3 separate regions of the Homo sapiens genome follow, and all the other regions are linked to region 1. Evidence: promoter capture Hi-C in human tissues and cell types (Jung and others, 2019). All regions are on one chromosome and are shown on one strand. The core of a region is centred on a gene start or on the middle of the fragment in contact, and the rest is flanking DNA. Distances in the headings are between cores, read along the strand shown. Region 1 holds the start of SCAPER (S-phase cyclin A associated protein in the ER). Region 2 has its middle 7.6 kb from the start of ISL2. Region 3 overlaps LOC101929457 (a long non-coding RNA gene).

What was found. Contacts are between HindIII fragments. The study calls those that stand out against the background at their distance.
Region 2: a fragment that was not itself captured here is called in contact with the fragment with the promoter of SCAPER in region 1 in 1 of the 25 tissues and cell types used here (IMR-90 fibroblasts).
Region 3: a fragment that was not itself captured here is called in contact with the fragment with the promoter of SCAPER in region 1 in 1 of the 25 tissues and cell types used here (lymphoblastoid cells).

What each region holds. Positions count from the first base shown.
Region 1 is chr15:76,903,781-76,907,949 of GRCh38, reverse strand. It overlaps SCAPER (S-phase cyclin A associated protein in the ER), which reads left to right and starts at 2,610. Exons shown (of 32, transcript NM_020843.4): 1 at 2,610-2,651. RefSeq lists an enhancer at 2,264-2,764 and silencers at 2,505-2,814, 2,825-2,934, 2,955-3,034. The HindIII fragment of the contact is 13,869 bases long and covers 1-4,169 here.
Region 2 is chr15:76,327,231-76,331,103 of GRCh38, reverse strand. No RefSeq gene overlaps it. Among named protein-coding and RNA genes, the nearest start is that of ISL2, 7.6 kb to the left of the region's middle. The HindIII fragment of the contact is 5,643 bases long and covers 1-3,873 here.
Region 3 is chr15:77,526,999-77,531,237 of GRCh38, reverse strand. LOC101929457 (a long non-coding RNA gene) reads right to left here. Exons shown (of 2, transcript NR_135692.1): 2 at 1-135. Among named protein-coding and RNA genes, the nearest start is that of LINGO1, 100 kb to the left of the region's middle. RefSeq lists enhancers at 36-879, 880-1,721, 1,722-2,565, 3,408-4,239. The HindIII fragment of the contact is 4,673 bases long and covers 1-4,159 here.

The sequences.
Region 1 (4,169 bases), core at 1,361-3,860:
ATATATATTCGGAAATCCAGAGCATAAAGATGCTAACCAAAGTTATGTAAAAGGCAGTGGTCATGTAGAGAGTGTGTCCAGTGGGAAAAGAGTGAAGGCTTATACCTATTCCTGTGGGATAACAATATTTAAAGGCTGGGAGAAATAAGAGAGACTTTAAAAGAGATGGAGAGGGAGTGGTTAGAGATGGAGAAGTGCTACCAAGAGAGTAAAAATGAAAGGCAAGGAAAAGTATTTCCAGAAGGAAGGAGGGTCATGAAGAGAAATTAAGTTAGGTAATGATGATAATGTCCATAAGATATATAGTAGGGAAATCCCTAGTGACTTTTTTTTTTTTTTTGAGACAGAGTCTCGCTCTGTCGCCAGGCTTGAGTGCAGTGGCATGATCTGTGCTCACTGCAACCTCCGTCTCCCTGGTTCAGCGATTCTCCTGCCTCAGACTCCTGAGTAGCTGGGATTACAGGCACATGCCACCACGCCCAGCTAATTTTTGTTATTTTTAGTAGAGATGGGGTTTCACCATGTTGGTCAGGATGGTCTCGATCTCGATCTCCTGACCTCGTGATCTGCCTGCCTCGGCCTCCCAAAGTGCTGGGATTACAGGCGGGAGCCACCAGCCCAGCCCAACTTTTTTTTTTTTTTTTTTTTTAATTGAGATGGAGTCTCGCACTGTCACCCAGGCTGGAGTGCAGTGGCATGATCTCAGCTCACTGCAAACCTCTGCTATCCAGGTTCAAGGGATTCTCGTGCCTCAGCCTCCCGAGTAGCTGGGACTATAGGTGTGCGCCACCGCACCCGGCTATTTTTTTTTTTTTTTTTTTTGTATTTTTGGTAAAGACAGGGTTTCGCCATTTTGGCCAGGGTGGTCTTGAACTCCTGACCTCAGGTGATCCACCTGCCTCAGCCTCCCAAAGTGCTGGGATTACAGGCGCGAGCCACGGCGGCTGGCCCCTAGTGATGTTGGAAAGAATGGTTTCAGTGGGGTGGTGGGGCAGAAACCAGAGTGCAGTAAGTCCAGACTTGAGTAGTGGTTGAGGAATTGGAGGCACTCTTGTTTAGATAATTGGAGAAATGTATTATAGGAAAGAAAGCAGAGGTTGAAGTGGAGTCTGGTAGGTTCGGCGGGAGATTTCAAGATGGGAGAGACTTCAGGTTGTTTACATGCTTATGAGTATGAAAGGAAGTGGGGATAATTAAGAAATGAGGCCCTGACCGCCTTTTATAGAATTGTAGTATGCTCCCTACTCTATCCCCCTTATCCTACTCATTTTGTTAACTGTAGTGCTTATCATGTTATATAATTTACTTATTTATTGTGTTTACTATTTCTTGTGTTAAAAGCAAAATATTAGCCAAATTAAACAGAGTTTGAGCAAAGAATTATTCCCGAATCAGGCAGCCTCCTGAGCCAGAGTAGGTTCATACAGACTCCCGCAGAGCCACATGGTGGAAAAAGGTTTATAGACAGAGAAAGAAAAGTGAGGTAGGGAAACAGCCAGAATGGTTATAGCTAGACGTTTACCTTATTTGAACACGGTTTGAACAGTTGGCCGTCTTTGGCCAAAACTTGGTGATTGGCGCAAGAGTAGGTTGCAGTGTATTTACACCTCCATTTAGGTTATAGTTTACTATTTACGGAGAAACCTTCAGGCTGAACTTAAAATATGTAAGGACACAGCTTTTGGCTAAACTTGATGTAACACTTGCCTGGTTTCACCCTGCTCCAAGAAGCCGGAGGTTTTTTAGAGATTTCTGTTTATTTTGCTCACGTATTAACTCCAAGCATCTAGAATACCATCTGATATATAGTATGTGGTCAATAAACATTTGCTGAATAAATGAAAAAGCGAGTTTTCTAAGAAGGCAAGAGAGAAGGGGAGCCAGAACATAGCCATATGGTTCCTGCCCCCACAACGCTTGTGAGTCCAGGACTTCCCGCCTACTGCGGGTGGGGAGGGAGAGGGAAGGGTAAAGAGCTGTTTCCCAGCTGGATGAAAAGGGACGGTGAATATTCGTTTGATAATTACAGTCTGCATTGAATCTTTTTTCTATTTTGTTCAGACTGATTTAAACGTTAAAGTATTTAATTCATCATATGTTTGTCTTTGAAGTAGATGAAACGTATTTGTTAGGTCTCTGTACTTCGACCTTCCAAGCCTGGCACACAGAAGGGCCCTGATAAAGCTTCTCGGAGGCCTAGTTGTGTTCAGCGCAGCCCAGCGTGCTCCTGTCAAGTGCTTTCGCCAGCACAGATTTCTGTGAGGCGCGTCTCTAAGTCCTTAATCTGTGGATTGACTGTGGTGATAAGGCAGGAGGAGGGAAGAGATTGAGTACGAGAAAGACCTGTGTGGCCAAAAGCGGCGGTGTAAGCTTAACCTAGGAAAAGAAACAGCTTCGGAAACGCCGCGCCGGGACATCGAACCAAATCAACCCTCACACCTCCCGCCTGGGCGCCCCAACGGCGCGAACGGGCGTGCGCCTGCGCGCGGACAACACAGATCTTGCAGCCGGGAGCGGCGCGGCAGCGGCTGAGATCACGTGGTGCGCCGGGAAGCCACCCCGCCTCTCCGAGGCCTCCCTGCCCCGCCCCGTCACGCCCCTTTCCCGGCGGGACGCTTTGAGCCGCCCCGAACTAAGCAGGGCGGTCGGGGGTGAGTGTCCGCGAGGGGCGTGCGTAGCGCAGACCCGGGCGGGTCCGGGTTGGGGCGCGGGCCGTCTGAATGCCTTGCGGGGACCAGGGGACAAAATGGCGGCGGGGTACGCCCTTTCACCCCCTCCCCTCACCTGGGAGTGCGAGTTGAGCGGGGCAGGGATCGTTGCTGGGGGAGGGGAGCCGCGGTCGCCTGGGGAGGGCTCGGAGGTCGGCCTCGGAGGCCTCGGGACGGGGGCTGGGGTGAGCCGCGTCCGGGCCCTGCCCTGCGGGCTCATCTGGGGTGTGAGGGACGTGAGACCCCGCACACTACGCGGTCTGAGGGGTGAGTGGGGGGCTGCCGCGTCACCTCACTTGGGGGCAGCCCCGGCCGCGGGTGACGAGGCTTCTGGAATGTCTAAATGCGAGGGGCCCCTGGAGGAGCCTCCCTTCGTTTGACAGGTGATCGTCTTCGTCATCTGTCATTCCCAGCGGGGTTTACCATGCTTTCCCTGTACTCTGATCTTAGCTCTGCCCAGGAAACGGGGCAGGAATGGCCTCTCCGTCTTCCAGATGCGTGCGCTGAGGCCTGGAGGGGCGAAGAGCCTCTCGCACCTGGGAGTAGTGGGACCCAGCCTCCTGCCTCTGTTGCTGCTCTTTTCCAAAACAGCACTTCCTTGGCGCCTTTCCTCTACACCGTTTTCCAGGCGCGTTCGTGGGAACGGCACCAGGGAGGAACGGGATTGTTAGAAAGCAGGCACAAAACTGGTCCTGTAAGCAACACCTGCTGCTGTTAAGGGGGCCCCAGCTGAGATGAGGCCGCCTGTTTGTGAGCAGCTTCCTGTTGCTGGTGGACTGCATCTCTTATTCTAGTTGTGACAAGTTATTTTCCATGAAAATAGCTATTCATTAATAGTCATTTTACCGAACAGATACTAATTCCTTATATGAATTATAGTTTGTCTTAGTTTATGGATTAATTTCATCATTAACTTTTCATCTTCATAAATAATCTGGTAGAAGGATGGATGGGCTAGGAGTAATACTTATTTTATGAATGGAGAAACGGGGGCTCAAAAGGTTATTACTTGCCTTAGATCACCAGCTGGTGAGTGGTAAATCTGGGGTTAAGTTTTCTGACCTAAGGTTGGTAGTCTGACCACTGTCCCACTCTGGCCTATACTGGTGCTCTTTCCCTTCTGTTATTTCTGTTAACTATGACTTTTCCTCAAAGTTTGTTGGTTGCAGATGATTTATGCCACTTGAAGAATGATATCCACTAAAGAATTAATATTTTTAATCAATCAAAGAGTCAAGTTTTAATGTGATTTGGAAGGTTGTCTGTGGGAGAAGTAATCTGATGGCTTTGAAGGCAGACTGTTTTGAGTTTGAATCTCAGCCCCAACCCTTGTTTTTGGCAAATTAATTTTTCTGAGCCTTTCTTATCTGTAAAGTAGGAATAATATCCACCTCATAATTTTGTTGATAGTAATAAATTAGGTGTCTGTAAAGTATTGAGAACTGTTCCTAGCCCATGGTA
Region 2 (3,873 bases), core at 320-2,819, 580 kb after region 1:
CACATGGGGTCATTACACGAGGAGGAGAAAAATTAACCCTTTAAAAATATATATATGGAGCTGGATGCAGTGACTCCCTCCTGCAATCCCAGCACTTTGGGAGGCCAAGGTGGGTGGATTGCCTAAGCTCAGGAATTCAAGACCAGCCAGGGCAACATGGTGAAACCCCATCTCTACTAAAATATAAACAATTAGCCAGGCGTGGTGGTGCACACCTGTAATCCTAGCTACTCAGGAGGCTCAGGCAGGAGAATCACTTAAACCCAGGCGGTGGAGGTTGCAGTGAGCCAAGATAGCATCATTTCACTACAGCCTGGGTGACAGAGAGAGACTCCGTCTCAAAATATATAAATATAAATATATATATAAATATATAAATATATATAAATATATATATAAATATATATAAATATAAATATATAAATATAAATAAATATAAATATAAATATATATATATATATATGAAGGCTGTCATTTCTTTCCAAATCACATTCTGAGGGTAGCCCAGGGATACCCTCCCAGGCCCAGATCTTAGGAAGGGATGAGGCCATGGGAAGGAGCTGTGCCCAGTGGCTTTGGGGGAAAGCTGCATTTTCCTCATCTTTCCAGAAGGGGGAACCCAGGCTGGCTAGCATGGCCTGGGAGTGGTTCTGAGCAGTTTGGCCAAAGGCACTGGCATATTCCCAGCCATGGCGCTTACCTTCTAGTGTTCTGCTTTCTTCTAGAAGTACTTCTCCTCTTGCCGAGATCCAGGTCCTGAGCAAAATGACAAAGAAAGGGAAGGAAGGAGGGACCGACGGAGCTCTAAAGGGAATGGATTCCCTGAAGCAGGACTGGGCGCCTTTTTTGCAGAGAGGCCAGCCTCTTGCCAAATGGGACAGGTTTGCAGCAGAGGCCCTGGATGGACGAGTGCCCTTCACTGAGACAGGCAGTAGTAGAGATGGGAAAGATGAGGCAGGGAGGTGCAGGTCGGCACTGTGAAGAGGCTGCAGTAGAGCCATGAATGACCTGGAGCTACCATAGGACACAAAGCGGGGGTGGTGCACAGAGCAGGGTGAGGAGCCTGTGGTGTCTCTTCCAAGCCTTGGAGGATAAGCTGGATTCTTCCAGACACAAAAGGAGCAGGAAGGTCTCCTAGGAAGAGGGAACGGTCTGGCAGACAGAAGGAGGCAGTGTGTGAATCAAGTGCTTTTGGGGGAAAACGTGGGCAGCTAGGAGAGGCTGGAGCCAGAGGTGACTATGGGCAGTGGCACAAGCAGAGTCATGGAGACCGGGAGAACCCATAGCCACCCCAGGCAGGCCCACATGGCCGGACGGTCAGGGAGGAAGCAGCAGGCACGAAAGACAGAAAGGGATATTTGGGTGAGCATGGGAAGCCCAAGTGCCACGCTGAGGAGCTTGGAGGTGATTCTCTTGGAAAAGGGGAAACCTCCCATTGCCTGGCTGAAGAGATTTAAGTGGGGAAATGGATGAACACAGCTATGCCGGGGAAAGAGGAACACTTAGATGTGACAAGCAAGACAAGCAACAACAAGGACATGTGTCAGGAGGGCCGGGAGGAGATGGGACCGAGGAGGATGGTGCGCATGTTGACTTGACGAGTGGCTCCCCTCTCTTCCCCAGAAATGGGCGGGACAGGGGCAAGGCTGGTTTGGGGGAAGGGTGTGAATGGGCGATAAATTAATCTCAACCATTGACATGGGGTGAAGGAAGAATTTCTATTTGTAATCCTGAGGATGGTGGAAAAGAATACCCCTTACTTGTGACTTACAGATATTGTTAAATATATTGAAAAATACATCTGGGTTGACATCCAGTTAGCAAGATTCCAGGGAACAATGCTGCTTTGTGAATTGTACCATCCCAGAGTGGGAGTGACTTCAGGTTTTTCGCTGTGCTCCAATGCTCCAGCACCTGCGAGTCAGTAACCATGAGCGTGGCGTCAGAACTGTCATGACTCATGTGCTCCTTGCATGTCTCTTTAGTAGTACTTCCAGATTCAAATTTTCCCAGCAGGAAAACTGAATATTGTAATAAGCTCCTCTGTCCTGCACAGATGTGTGTGGATTTAGGTTTTGCAGACTTTGTGGGCTGGTTACATCCCCTTTATCAGTCAGAGATGCTTGTCTTTATGATATTAAAACAAATGAAAAACGCCTTATCATATGTTCTCAAACATGAGATTATCTCTTCATAAAGTTATTGTCCTTTTAAAGGCTTTTAAGGATGCCATTTATTCTCTCCAACATGTACTCTTAAGAAGCTAAATGTGTGTTTTTTTTCTTATAACAAGGACCAATCATTCTTGTTCTAGTTTGTCTATTCATCACCTTGCAACAACTCTAACAAAAGTCCATCAAGAAACCATTTCTCAAAAGAATCTCCAGCAGATCCTCTTTCACTGGGAAACATCTCCTGGAGGTTAGAGTTACCGGTAAATTCCAAAAATAGATAATAAATGAGATAATAGAATCTGGGTTGTCACCTCTTGTCCAGTGGGATTATCCGATGTCTAATCATGGACAGATTGTGATTTATGTGATTGTAGATGGGGCATTAATCCGATTCAGGAGGGAATCCAGTCAGATTTTCATCTGCTCCGAATGTGTAATTGGTTTGGAGGCAGGAGAAAAGCAGCTTGTACCAGATTTTGCCGCATCACTGTGATGAGGTCTATTTTGATCAGCTTGAGTTATGGACAATATAAATTATTTATAGCAGCTTTAGACATGCCTTATACTTGTAAAGACCTTCAGAACAAAGTAATAATGCTCCTCTTGCTGTTGGAGGAATGAATCTTATTCAGCTGAATGCCGGTGCCCACAGCTTATAAAAATCAAGAGGGAGAAAAGATTAATGGCCTGTCGGTCCACCACCAAATACTGACCAAACATTACAAGAGTCAAGAGGTTGAGCGAGGCCCAGGAGAGGAGGCCAACTGCTGTATGAAGAATGGTCCTGGCCCTCAAGGGGTTTCACTCTGGTTGGGAAGATAAGACCCAGATTCAGGAAAGCACAGGCAACCACAGAAGGCAGTAGGTGGGGAGGAGAATTCCGCATGAACTAGACAAGCTTCCTGAAGGATATGGAGTTGGAGTTGGGTCTTAAAAGGTGAGAAGTCTTCAAATGTGGCCTGTGTAGGAGGAGGGAGAGTGCTGGGAGCAAAGGCAGGAATGCAGGCATGCTGTGGACACAGGGAGGACCCTGGGTTGGAGTGGAGGGTAAGGGAAGGTGCTGTCATTTACTAAGCAACCGCTATGTGCTGGGTGCTGGCTGGGACTGCATTTACCTCATTCAGTCTTCTCATTATCAGCAGAATGTTTTTGGCTAAAAGATAGCGCTGCTAAAAGTGGCATTAGGCTGGAGTAGTGACTCACACTTGTAATCCCAGAACTTTGGGAGGCCAAGGCAGGTGGATCACTTAAGGCCAGGAGTGTGAGACCAGCCTGGCCAACATGCAAAACCCTACCTTTACTTAAAAAAAAAAAAAATTAGCAGGGCATGGTGGTACATGCCTGTGGTCCCAACCACTTGGGAGGCAGAGTCAGGAGAATCGCTTGAACCTGGGAGATGGAGGTTGCAGTGAGCTGAGATGGCGCCACTGCACTCCAGCCTGGATGACAGAGACTCTGACTCCAAAAAAAAAAAAAGAAAAAAAATAGTGGCATTAACCAGGAATGAGTTGGCTCAAACAACAAGCACAGAGGTAGGGCAGCCCCAGAGATGAATGACTCAGTGACCCAGTGTTATCAACGGGTCCTTTTTGTTTTTCTGCTCTACTGTCCACAGATGCAGTCTCATTTTAAGGATGGTTCTTGTGGTCACGAAACGGCTGCCAAAATACCCAGGACCATATGCTCCCTTGGAGAAGCT
Region 3 (4,239 bases), core at 574-3,073, 620 kb before region 1:
AAGAGAGGCCGGGCAGGGGCGCTGTTAGGAAGCTGAGGCGGCAAGAGTTAGAGTGACCTGCTCAAGGTCACACAGCGAAGATAGGGCAGAGGTGAGGCTCCAACCTAGGTCTTCCAACGCCCCATTCTCTGGTCCCTAAAGAGACAAATGTTACAGATACTTTGCTTTAAGATGTACTGAAACCCATCCACTCATCTGCTCACTCATTCCGCAGGTGTTTCTCAGGGACCTACACTGTGTTTGGGCACTGTGCTAAGTACTGGGGAGGGTTTCAATGTTATCAAAGCAAACAACAATGCCTGCCCTCCTAGAGTTTATATTCTAATGCAGGAGAAGGAGAAACAACATAAGTAAGTTAATTACAAAGTGCCAGAAGGCAATACATCTGTGGAATGCAACAGAGCAGGGTCAGGACATGGGGAGGGCCAGGCGGAGGCGGTTTAAAGTCGAATGTTCAGGGCAGGTCTGGTGAGAAGATGAACATCAGGCTGGGTGCAGCAGCACATGCCTGTAATTCCAGCACATTCCACCCTCCTTGCCTTGGGAGGCCAAGGGGGGTGGATCACGCGGTCAGGAGTTTGAGACCAGCCTGTCCAACATGGTGAAACCCCATCTCTACTAAAAATACAAACATTAGCCAGGCGTGGTGGCATGCGCCTGTAATCTCAGCTACTAGGGAGGCTGAGGCAGGAGAATTGCTTGAACCCGGGTGGCAGAGGTTGCAGTGAGCCGAGATCGCACCACTGCACTCCAGCCTGGGCGACAGAGTGAGACTCCATCTCAGAAAAAAAAAGAAAAAAAAAGGATGAACATCAAGCAGAGACTTGAAGGAGCTGGGGAAATGAGCCAGCCATGTGGACCCAATGGGAGGAGTCTGTCAGCAGAGGAGCCGCCTGTGCGAAGGGCCTGAGGTAGCAGTGGGCCTGGGGTGCTTGTGGACAGCAGGGAGCCTGGTGTGGCTGGAGCAGAGGAATGGGAGAAGAGTGGGAGGCGATGATGGGGGAAAGGTGGAGAGAGAGGAACAGATCATGCCTTGGCATTAAAATTGCCCATGGGCAGATGGGCCTTCCTGGGCAAATCTGAAGGTCTCACAAATGATGGAGTCACATGGGGCTCATCACAACCAGAAGCAGAGTGGGAGTGGGGGCATCCAGCCCTCTCACCTCCCCTGGGAGGAGTCTTCTTCCTCCACCTCTCCTACCCTCACCCTGTGCCACCCCATGCTGCCCCTACCCCACCTCATGCTTGTGGTGTGTCCCCAGGGAGACTGGGCCAGGCTGGGTGAAGGAGGAAGGTCCATAGCCTTCCCCAGCCTAGGAGTCTGCTAGCTGCTAGTCTGAGTGAGCTTTGAACCTGCCAGGCCCTGCAGGGGCACTAGAAACCATTAGCAGGCAAACAAAAGGCCTGGGGAGGCCTATGAAGCCACCATGGAAGCCTACAGCTAGGTTTATTTCGAATTGAATAAAGAGCCCTGAAGCCCAGCCATAACCACCCGCTACTCTCCACACCCCTCCCAGACTCCTGACCTGAGGAAAGGCAGGCCCAAGGGCTTGTCCATGGCCACACAGCAACCGAGGCCAAAGCCCCGGTCATCTCCAGAGGGGAGAAGCTTTCTGTGCCCATGAGTGCAGGGCAAGCCACGGCCCAGAGAAGGCCACCACAGGTGAGGCCCACACCGGGCACGATGTGCAGAGTGGGTAGGTGGACACTGAGAACCCTTCGGGTGAGGCCCGAGCCAGTGAGTTCAGGGGCTGAGGGTCTCCTCATCTGTTTACTCGCTGTGTGACCCTAGAGAAGTGTCTTAACCTTCCTGAGCCCAACTGCAACATGGGGTTCCTAATAGCCCTACTTTACAGGGCGGCTGTAAAGATGAAGTGAGCTCACCCATCTAAAAGCACTTAGGCTACTGTGTGGCTCAGGATAAGTGTCATCCTCCCACTGCCTTCCCTCAAGTAAGAATGGAGGGGTGGGCAACTGCCAGGCGGTTCCCAGGCCTAGGTCCCCAGGGCAGACCCGCGCCTCTAGCGGAGCTCATCCCTGAACTGAGGCTGCCTTCCCCACCACCGGCCGCAGAGCCTCAGAGGCAGCCAACCAGACGGGCGCTTTTAACAGCTTTTTAATGTGATGGAGCTCGCTGAGCTTGGAGAGTGGAGGCATGTCAGGGGCTTGCCTGCGGAAGCTTTCAAGGTCAGCCAGCAGCAGCCTGACCTTGAAGCCTGTCCCTTCCCAGGAACAGCCCAGGGGCTGCCGAGACCATTCGCCATCAAGGAGGCCCTGGGGGCCCCAGCTCAGGAAAAGTATTAAAAAAAAAAAAAAACAGCGATGAAGAGGCGTTAAATGGATTAAGGAGGCAGGTGGCCAGAGAGGATGAGGGGCAAGGCTGTGCCAGGGACAGCAACAGCAGAGACCTCCTCCTCCAAGAGGCTTCAAATTGGCTTCTCCTCCCTCGTCACACGCCAAACAGTCTCCCAAGTGGAAAGACTGGGAAGATAAGCAACTTCCCCTTCATCTCCTCCTTCTCACAGTCTCCCCAGCAGGACAGCGCTGCTTCCTTCGTCCTGCAGATTCATAAAAATCAGGGTCATCTCCCTGAGAAATGGCTCAATTATCAGCTCCCCTCACAGAGAGCACAGAATAAGATGGGCCTTACAAAGTGGGGCCACCCACCAGGCCACCCGCACCCCAGCACACTGCCTCGGCGCTCCCCAGAGAAGGCAAGAACTCTGCAGGGAGGGCTTGGCACTGTCACCGCCCTCCTCCCCACCTTCTGGGGGCCTCTGCCACAGCCCTAGTGGTGGCAGGCCTGTCTAGGCAAGATGGGACTTCAGCCCCTTCCTAGCTGTTGCTGTGAGCAGGCCGGTGGCCAATGGCCTCAAGTCTAGTGTGTAGGCTGAGCCCCTCACAGCTCACCTGGCACTTCACTCCCATTATCCTCTGTAAGGCGGGGAGTGGTATACGTCTGTTTTAAAGACTAGGAAATTCAGGTCCCTCAGCCAATAGACAGAGGAACTGGAATTCAAATCCAAGTTCTGGTTCCCAGACCTGGGCACTGCAGAGCCCGCATGGGGAGGAGACTTATAGGCCTCTCAGCAGCGGGTCACATTCTCAGGGACTGGGGGGGCTCCCCCAGCAGACAGGCCAAGGAGACCCCAGGGAGAACAAGAGCAGAGGGCAGCCTCTTCCCAGCTTCCCTTCTGCCCAGGGCCGGGGTCGTGGCCAGGGCACAGTGGGGAAGGCCAGGCCCCTTCCAGGATACACACCATGCCCCAGCCCAGAGGGAAGTCATGGGAAACTAAGGGCTTCAGGAATCCCGGAGTGTCCACCCTACCCCAGAGAAGCCCAAAGGGATGAGGGGATTTCAAGTTGGGCTGGGAACCAGGTGGCCTCGTTCCAGTCCCAGCTCTGCCATGGACGAGGAGTGGCCTTGGACAAGTTCCTGCCCCTCTCCTCCCTCAGTTTCCCTGTTTGTGAAATAGGTGATGATCCTCTCTAAATGGGAAGATCTCTCTGACTCACCCCCAGGAGGATCTGGCCACCCTCTCACTCTAAACTGGCCCGGGTAGAGCCAGTAGCTGGAAGAGCCAGGGCTGAGCCCACCGCATGGGAATTCAGGGATGGGGTCTGCTGAATTCCAAACTTTCAGCAGCAGAGCGGCTGCAGGGCTTTCCCACAGATGCAGCTCAGCCCCCGGAGCAGGCCCCTCAGTTCCCACTGCAGCCCTTCCAAGTGGAAACCACAACGCTGTGGAAGCCCGGCAGAAAGTAAACAGAAAGCACGTCCCCAGGACCTCGAGGCCCCGGGCCCCGCCTGGGGCAGCCCTCAGGGAGGCGGCTCCAACCAGAGCAGATTCCTGCCGAGCCTGTCTGGACTAGCCTGGGGCCCCTGAGGGAGGAGGCAGCCACCCCCACCCCCACGCCCCCTGCTCAGATCAGAGAAAATGCTGTCTGCCTCCTGCTCAGAAGCGCCAAGGGGTAGGGGAGAGCAGGCCTGACACCAGAGCACAGGGCCCTGGTCTTAGCGCTGCTACAGACTCCCTAGAGGGGCAAGGCCAAACCTCCCTGTGCTTCACTGTCCCCATCTGAACAACAGACACGGCACATCAGCTGCTTTCTAAGGTCCTTCCCAAGTACCAAGAGTTTGATCTTAGAACGTGGAACGAGGTGGTCCGCTGAAAAGGGGAGACGAATGGGGGCTGTCTCAGGGGCTCGAGCTGGGAAGGCAGGCTGGGTCTATGAGGAG